Regions from separate parts of the Homo sapiens genome. Here region 2 is linked to region 1. Evidence: promoter capture Hi-C in 16 types of primary human blood cells and fetal thymus (Javierre and others, 2016). All regions are on one chromosome and are shown on one strand. Each heading gives the region's core, a stretch centred on a gene start or on the middle of the fragment in contact. The rest is flanking DNA. Distances are from core to core; before and after follow the strand shown. Region 1 holds the start of ZNF582 (zinc finger protein 582). Region 2 overlaps ZNF71 (zinc finger protein 71).

Region 1 (4,159 bases), core at 466-2,965:
CTGCGACGGTAGAGCTGGGGGAGGAAAGAGCAAACATGAGAGGCTAGGCTTGCCTCACAGTTCCTAGAATGCCAAGTTACAAGTCCCCACCTGCTTGCCCTCTGCCCACCAAGAAAATGAGAAGGAGGGGGAGGCAAAGGGATCCTCACCCAACCCCAGGAAACCAGCTTTAGCTGCTGCAAGGCAAAGGGGAACCAGTGGTCCTTTCCCTCCCATTTCCCCTAAACATCCAGTGGTTCTGTTTTGCTGCAAATGCAAGTCTAAGACAGGGATGCTGAGGGCTGTTCTAGTGACTGAGACCCACATGTTACCTCAAGGACAAGGAGGGCTTCCCTCAAGCCAGGGAGCATAGAAGGCCTGCATCATTTGCATAGCCCCAGCCTAGAATAAAGCCTTTCCAGGACTAGGCCATTTAACTCTCTCCTGCAGCAAATATAACACCTTTGAAAGTCTACCTGGCTCTTTTCCCAACCGCCAAATATACAAAAAGCTCTACAGCCCAAACTGAGGCTTTGTGCATGCCACTTCATGGAGCATGCCTTGCATCAACAAATGGGATAGAGTTGGAAGGAACAGTAAGAGACAAATTACACACAGCACGCCCAGTGCTCCATTATCAGCACATAAATGTGTCCTTCCATAGAGACACAGCAGTGCACAAAGCTGCATGTCCAATAATATTTGCTAAATAGGAGAACTGAAAATTAGTACGTAAGTAGGCAAGTCCACAAGTAGCCAAGAGGTTGAATCATTTTTGGCACAGCCATATAATGGGATGCCAAGTGACTATCAAAAATGACTATCAAAAACTGACAAGCAAAGATATTAACTACTGAATCCTTTGAGAACATTCAGCAAAAAGAAGTCAAACTCACTAACACACAGGCTAAAAACAAAACAAAACAAAAAAATTGGAAGAAAAAACACCCAAGTATTCGCAGTGTTGTCATTTAACCAGTTCTTGAGCTCACTGTTAAACAAGAAGTACTCTGTAAAGGAGTATATAAGGTGCCTACTGCATTACAAACATTTGGTTCTAAGTAACGTGTAAGTGAAATAATTATGAATGTTGCTTAATATGATGTAATAGGCAGCTTTTCCTTATTATGACCACTTTTATAAGCATTATTTGTATTAACTGCACGATATCCTATTTACAAAGGATGGCCTGTGATCCACTCAAGTGTTTCCCCATTGCTGGACATAGAATTTGAACATATAAAATGTTCCCAAGTATAAGTTTTTCTAAACTAGCGGTTCTAAGTCTTCTGGGGTCTTGTAACTCTCTGAGAACCTCATGAAACAAGATTTCCTCTCAGATTAAAAAAAAAAAAAGGCACGCATAACAGTGAATGCAAAACATCCGCAATTTCAGGGGGTCGGAGACCCCTGCGCACCCACCTAAGGGGTCCATGCACCTGGGCTATGAGGCTGGAAGCAGAAAGGGGGCGCCAGAAAGCGCACGCCGCGAGGGCCGGCGGGAAATGTAGTCTCACGCCGGTAAAGCCACAGAGCGACGATGAGGCGAGACGTCTGCGTTCTTCTCAGGCCTGAGACCCAACCGGCCCGGGCACCAGCTCCTGCTGGACCCCAGAGCGCCTGGAAAGCTCCGGAACCTCTCACCTGCCGCCTCCTCGGGTCCAAGTGCCACCGCGGCCGCGCCCCCGGCAGCCCAGGGCGCGCTTCCACCACGGTACCGGTGGATTCGCCGTGCGCAGCCGGAAGATGGCGCAGACGCACAAAGCACACCGATGCTGCGCCATGATAGGGCCGGCGCCGCAGTGTCTTCCGGGAAACATAGTCTTTAGGCGTAAAGGCAGCAGCCCGGCCTTGAAGCCGGATCTCGCGATGTTTCAGGGTGAGCCGGACGCAGGCGTGCCTGCGCAGTGCGCGGAGGAGTGCTGTTCGTGTGTTCGAGTCCCTGGGTTGCTTCCTGGGGTCTGTGGTGCTGGGTGTGCTATCTGCGTGTGATTCTCTAGCGAGAGATTGTGGGCGAGTGACCGAGTGGGCAAGGGGCCGTCACTGTGTGTGCGTGATTTTGACAGTGTGTGGTGGTAGCTTCTGACTCCGCGTGGGTCGTTGAATGTATGACTGGGACCGTTTAGCGGTGGATACACAACTGTGTGCGGCTGTGGAAGATTGCCTCATCCGTTACGTTCCCATTTCCGTGGAACAACAGTTTTACCAGAAGGTTTCGAAGGAACCTTAAAGTTTGGAAGCGTAAGAGTTTATCTGGTAACTAATTTTAAACATTACATCTATGGTGAGTTAAATGTGGGTTATGAAGGAGAACGCAAAATAAAAACGTTATAAAGATGTAAAGGAGTTTTATGGGGCGGCATCTCTTGGGCAAATATCAGACCGCCGTAGGTAGTTGTTAATTCTCTCTTGTTTTTAGGCGGCTTTGGTGTCATCAAATGTGAGAAGCCCTGGACTTTACACATCCCGAGCCAGTGTGATCCAGTATGATTGGGAGTCCGAGTGCCAGATGCCGGTCAGGACCTGTTATGCTGGGTCTCAGAATGCGGAAACTCTCCCTGTCCGAGGTGGAACAGTTTGTCCTTGAGTGAGGACTGGAGTCCTGAGTGACTCTTTTGATTTGATCCTGTTTCCCTCAAACCTGGTGAGCTCTATGGTGTAATAAATGGTTAAGAGTGTGAACCCTTAACCATCTCTAAGACTGGAGCCAGAATGCCTGAACTCCAGTCTTAGAGATGTGCCTCGGTCTCCACATTTGAAAGTGAGGATGATTGTGGCATCTAATTCATTGAGTTGTTGGGGAGGAGTAACTGATATGTAAAATAATGCTACTGCTGCTGGATAAGGATGCTAATATGACTGAAGCTAATGCTTTCTTTCTGCAAAGATGCTTTTTCCAAAACACACCATATTGCCTCTTTACACATTCTTCAGGAGAGGGTAGAGGCTGCATTTTCCTTGTAGGTGCGGTGATGTGGTGGAAAGCACACTTTTAGAATTAGACAGATGTGGATTCAAATAGCATTTCAGCCATTTATTAGTTTCTTCGTGCCTATCTCGGTTTTGTTTTGTTTTTTTTTTTTTGTCCATAAAAGGAAGAATGTAATGCTGGGCTTGCAGCTTTGTCCTGAGGGTCAAATAAAATGATTTAATAATATAAGCAAAGCTCAGAGGTTGGTTATTGCTGATTACTGATATTAAAAGACAACTTCAGCAAGGATGGTTGAATTTCACACTTGTGAGCGGACAGTTGAGGAGACAGTTGTAGATTTATCCTACTTGACCTTATTTGTGGTTCAAGACAGTGTTGCGAGTTCAAGAGGAGAGGGTAGATGCAAAAAGTCATCATCTTTCCTATGTTCTCTGATCTTGGGAAGGGGCGAGTGGCTCTAGTTTCCCTTTAACATCCCACTGTGTTGAGTGTGTCTATATGTACATGCGTCAGTATTTGCTTATGGAGGAAAGGAAGGAAAAAGACCAAACAGGTACAAAGCCAGCCATCTCTCAGGCTAACTTTCTTCTATACCATTTTTACTTTCTCACATTCATTAATCTGCCAAAGAGAAATTTAGAGGATGATGAAATGGCCACTTCTGACTCTGAACCAAGCCTCTGAAGTCATACACCATTATACTCTTGGTCACAAAATCAGCTGTGAGTCTAAGTAGGTGGAGGCTACACAAGAGTATAAGTACTAGGAGGCAGGGATCATTCAGGGTCGTCTTAGAGGGTGGCTTCCAGTTTCTTCCTTTTAAGAGTATGAGAATGCTCTGAGCTAGCCTCTCCATTCCATGGAATCCATAGGTCTTTTGTCAGCCACTTCCCAGTACACATTCCTGTGCCAAAGCACATGCAGAGTTTGTAGGGTCCAGCCCCACAGGGTCGGTTGGTTTCTCCCCGTGTGCGGAGACGAGAGATTGTAGAAATAAAGACGCAAGACAGAGATAAAAGAAAAGACAGCTGGGCCCAGGGGACCACTACCACCAAGACGCGGAGACTGGTAGTGGCCCCGAATGCCAGGCTGCGCTGATATTTATTGGATACAAGACAAAGGGGCAGGATAAGGAGTGTGAGCCATCTCCAATGATAGGTAAGGCCACATGGGTCACATGTCCACTGGACAGGGGGCCCTTTCCTGCCTGGCAGCCGAGGCAGAGAGAGAGAGGAGAAAGAGAGAGAG
Region 2 (4,159 bases), core at 951-3,450, 210 kb after region 1:
ATTACATTTTTAGTGTTTTGTTTTTTTTTTTTTTTGAGATGGAGTCTCGCTCTGTCACCCAGGCTGGAGTGCAGTGTTGCCATCTCAGCTCACTGCAAGCTCCGCCTCCTGGGTTCATGCCATTCTCCTTCCTCAGCCTCCCGAGTAGCTGGGATTACAGGCACCTGCCACCACACCCGGCTAATTTTTTGTATTTTTGGTAGAGACGGGGTTTCACCGTGGTCTTGATCTCCTGACCTCGTGATCCGCCCGCCTCGGCCTCCCAAAGTGCTGGGATTACAGGCATGAGCCACTGCGCCCGGCCAGTTATTTTTAAATGTATCATTAAATTATTATTGATCATAGTCACCCTGTTGTGCTGTCAAATAGTAGGTCTTATTCATTCTTTGTGTGTGTGTTTTTTTGTTTTTTTGGGGTTTGTTTTTTTTTTTTTTTTTTGAGATGGAGTCTCGCTCTGTTGCCAGGCTGGAGTGCAGTGGTGCAATCTTGGCTCACTGCAACCCTCTGTATTTTTTTTTTTTTTTTTTTTTTTGAGACGGAGTCTCGCTCTGTCGCCCAGGTCGGACTGCGGACTGCAGTGGCGCAATCTCGGCTCACTGCAAGCTCCGCTTCCCGGGTTCACGCCATTCTCCTGCCTCAGCCTCCCGAGTAGCTGGGACTACAGGCGCCCGCCACCGCGCCCGGCTAATTTTTTGTATTTTTAGTAGAGACGGGGTTTCACCTTGTTAGCCAGGATGGTCTCGATCTCCTGACCTCATGATCCACCCGCCTCGGCCTCCCAAAGTGCTGGGATTACAGGCGTGAGCCACCGCGCCCGGCCCTCTGTATTTTTTTAATACCAATTAGCCATCCCCACATTCCCCCCACCCTTCCACTACCCTTCCCAGCCTCAGGTTTCTTCATCATTCTAGTCTCTATCTCCATGAGTTTGTTTTAATTTTTAGCTCACACAAGTGAGAACTTGCAAAGTTTGTCTTTCTATGCCTGGCTTATTTCACTTAACATAATGACCTCCAGTTTTATCCATGTTGTTGCAAATCACAGGATCTTATTCTCCTGCTTTTCTTTTGTTTCAAGGGGCGAGTGATGGGTTGCAGGGATGTTAAGATATCTCTCCACTTGAGACTTTATCCTGAGCTTGTCAGGAGAACTGGAGGAGAATTGAATCAAGATGCATTTCTCTAGGCGAATCTGGCTCTGAGAGCCCCTGGGTGGAAGTTCCTTACACTCATATCTGCTAGTTGAACCTCATGGTAACCCCATGAAGTCTGGGGGAAGTGCCCAAAGAGGCCACAGGTGGTTCTGGGGCATCTCAGGGGGCCTCAGTCCAGCACTCACACTCAAGGAGGGATCCGGGCAGGGCCATTGGGAGAAGGCAGGGTGTCCGGTGGCCCTCAGCAGCCTGCGGGAATGTGTGTGAGTGTATGTGTGTTAACCATATCTATAGGAGTGTACATGGGAGTGCATCTGTGAGGCATTGTAGCCTGGAGGCTAAGCTGTGGACCCAGACATACTCTGCCTGACTCCAGTCCCAGCTCTGTAATCTTGAGCAAGTGGTTTAATCTCCTCGGGCCTCAGCCTCCTCATCTGTGAAATGGGTAGGTAGAAGTAGTACCTACCTTCCAGGATGGTTGGAAGATCAAGTGATATACATTCAAGTTCCCTACATGCAGTAAGCCCTCTAAATACTCACTGTTGATGTATGTGTATGTGTGTCTATCTGTCTGTCTCTGCTTGTCTCTCAGTGGGTGTGTGTCTGTCCTGTCTACATTTGTGAGGCCAGCCTAGGCCTGGTCTCTCAGCATGCCTCCCTCTTTCTTCTCCCTACAGCACTGTTGGTCACCGCAGGCCTGTCTTCCTATTCACCGTGGGCAGCAGAGGGATGGCTGCTCAGCTGCTGACTGATGAGGCACTGGTGAGTCATGTTGCCCTGTCACTCTCCTTTCCAAAGGCTGGATCCTGCCTTGGGTGAGCCTCTGCTGCTCGAACCCTCTCCAAGGCCCCCAGTCCCATCTTCTGGGGCTGTGTCTGCCCTGATGAAGAGGGCTGTGCTTATAGATGATGCTGACCCTGGCTGTGGGGTCAGTTGTAGGGGACAGGGAAGCTTTGGAATGGCCAAACTAGCTCTCTGGACTCTTAGGAGACACAGGTGGGCACCTGTGGGAAGTGGTGGTTTAGACATGTGACATTGAGTGAAAACTTGCGCAGGACCATGCTGGATGTGTGACCTTTAAAATGGGCAAACACACTAAATGCTTCTTGTGAATGTGAATGCCCACATGTGTGATGAAAGTACAAAAGCTTATGGGAATGAGGCCCACAAATTCACCCATGATTTTACCCCAAAAGATAATCACTCTGGAATGTTTGAGTCTGGCTAAGCAATTTTAATGTTAAAGATTGCTTTTTCATCAGAGATTTCATCCTGAGCATTTCTCCACATCATTAAAAACTCCTTTGTAACGTCCATCTTAATGACCCCATAAAAGTGTTGTTCAGTGGCCATACCCTGGTTTACTTAATGGTTCCTCTGTTGTTGGACCTTTATTGGTTTCCAAGTATTCTTTTTTTGGTTATAAACAGTGTCATGAGGGACACTGGGCACAAATCTTTCTTTGTGTCTTATATGATTTCTTTAGGAGTGATTCCTTGAAGAGGAAGATTGGGTTGGGTATTTTTGAGGTATTTTGATATTATTTCCACATCAGTTACGGCGGTATGTATTCCCACCAGCATGTCTGAGCGGGTCTCTGATGATTTATATGGCTGTTGTCAGGCATTTATTCTGCATGTTGGATATATTTAGATTGGTGCAATATTGCACCATGATAATAAATGATAAATGGATATAAATGACAAATGCTATAAACCATGATGAGCCTGATAGGGGACAAATGGTGCCACGTGATTTATTTCTGAGTAGCATTGTTTGTATTATTAGTGAAGTTCAAGTCTTAGAAAATGTTTACTAGCCATTTCTGTGGGCAGGGAAATGATCCATCTTGTGCTTTAGCAGTCTACAGGAATCTGAGTATGCTTTAAAGACTTTACAGAAGCAAATGTGTGTGTGTAAATATTTGTGGCAAATATTCTTCCCAGATTTGCTTTTTGTTTCTTTATTTTACTTTATTTTTTCTGTATAAAAGCATTTCATATTTTTAAAATCAAATCTGTTGGTTTCTCCCACTGTGGTGTCTTTCTTCATCTTTAAGCTGTGAAAGGGTTTCTCCATCCACAGGTCACATAGCAGCTATATTTTCTTCCTTTTCACCATTTGTCATTTGAATGTTAACAATGAACTTTTGAATCTACCTGTAATTGATTTTGCTATATAAATGTGTCAGTAGACTTATTTGGGAGCTTTGGTTTATTCTGTCTTCATTTGTTTGGTACCTTTGTTGAGGTACACATCACGTATCACAAAGTGTACAATTCACTGATTTTGGGTACATTCATAGAGTCGCGTTAACCATCACCACAGTCCATTTCAGAATATTTTCATCATCCTGAAAAAGAGCCGAGTACCCATTGGCACTCATTTCCATTTTCCCCCATCAGTCCACGGCCCCTGGCAACCAGTAATCAGCTTTCTGTCTCTATGAATTTGACTGTTCTGGACATTTCAAATAAATGGAATCATACATGGTGTGGTCTTTTGTGACTGGCTTCTTTCACTCAGCATAATATTTGCAAGGTTCAACCATGTGGTAGCACATATAGAGCTTCATTCCTTTTTTTGACTGAATAATATTCCAGTGTGTGTTTCTACATATTTTATTTATCCTTTCATCAGTTGATGGACATTTGGGTTGTTTCCACTTTTTGGCTATTATGAATAATGCTGCTATGAATATTCATGTATAAGTCTTTGAACATATGTTCTCAGTTCTCTTAGGTGTGTACCTGGAAGTGGAATGTTGGGTCATATGGTTAACTCTGTTGAACCAGTAAAGGAACCACCAGACTGTTTTCCTAAGCGATTGCACCATGATGCCTTCATTTTTGTCTCATCTGTGATTCTTGCCTTGAATTCTTCTTTTACCTACATTACTTAGAAAGATTTGTTGATTGTTTTTATTTCAACAGGGTTGGGAGTTTTGGTTTAAGTTTTTTTTTTTTTTAATTACTACTAGTGTAATTACATTCAATTTTTAAAAAA

Evidence for each region. The method cuts DNA at HindIII sites, captures the fragments that hold promoters and counts their contacts. A CHiCAGO score of 5 or more calls a contact.
Region 2: a fragment that was not itself captured here is called in contact with the fragment with the promoter of ZNF582 in region 1 in 1 of 17 cell types (total CD8 T cells); the score reaches 5.0 in total CD8 T cells.

What each region holds. Positions count from the first base shown.
Region 1 is chr19:56,391,819-56,395,977 of GRCh38, forward strand. ZNF582 (zinc finger protein 582) reads right to left here and starts at 1,716. Exons shown (of 5, transcript NM_001320371.4): 1 at 1,402-1,716; 2 at 1-14. ZNF582-DT (ZNF582 divergent transcript) reads left to right here and starts at 1,858. Exons shown (of 2, transcript NR_037160.1): 1 at 1,858-2,235. The HindIII fragment of the contact is 9,401 bases long and covers 1-4,159 here.
Region 2 is chr19:56,599,677-56,603,835 of GRCh38, forward strand. It overlaps ZNF71 (zinc finger protein 71), which reads left to right. Exons shown (of 4, transcript NM_001370215.1): 2 at 1,831-1,915. The coding sequence starts at 1,883. ZNF71-SMIM17 (ZNF71-SMIM17 readthrough (NMD candidate)) reads left to right here. Exons shown (of 5, transcript NR_163263.1): 2 at 1,831-1,915. Among named protein-coding and RNA genes, the nearest start is that of ZNF71-SMIM17, 6.5 kb to the left of the region's middle. The HindIII fragment of the contact is 197 bases long and covers 2,103-2,299 here.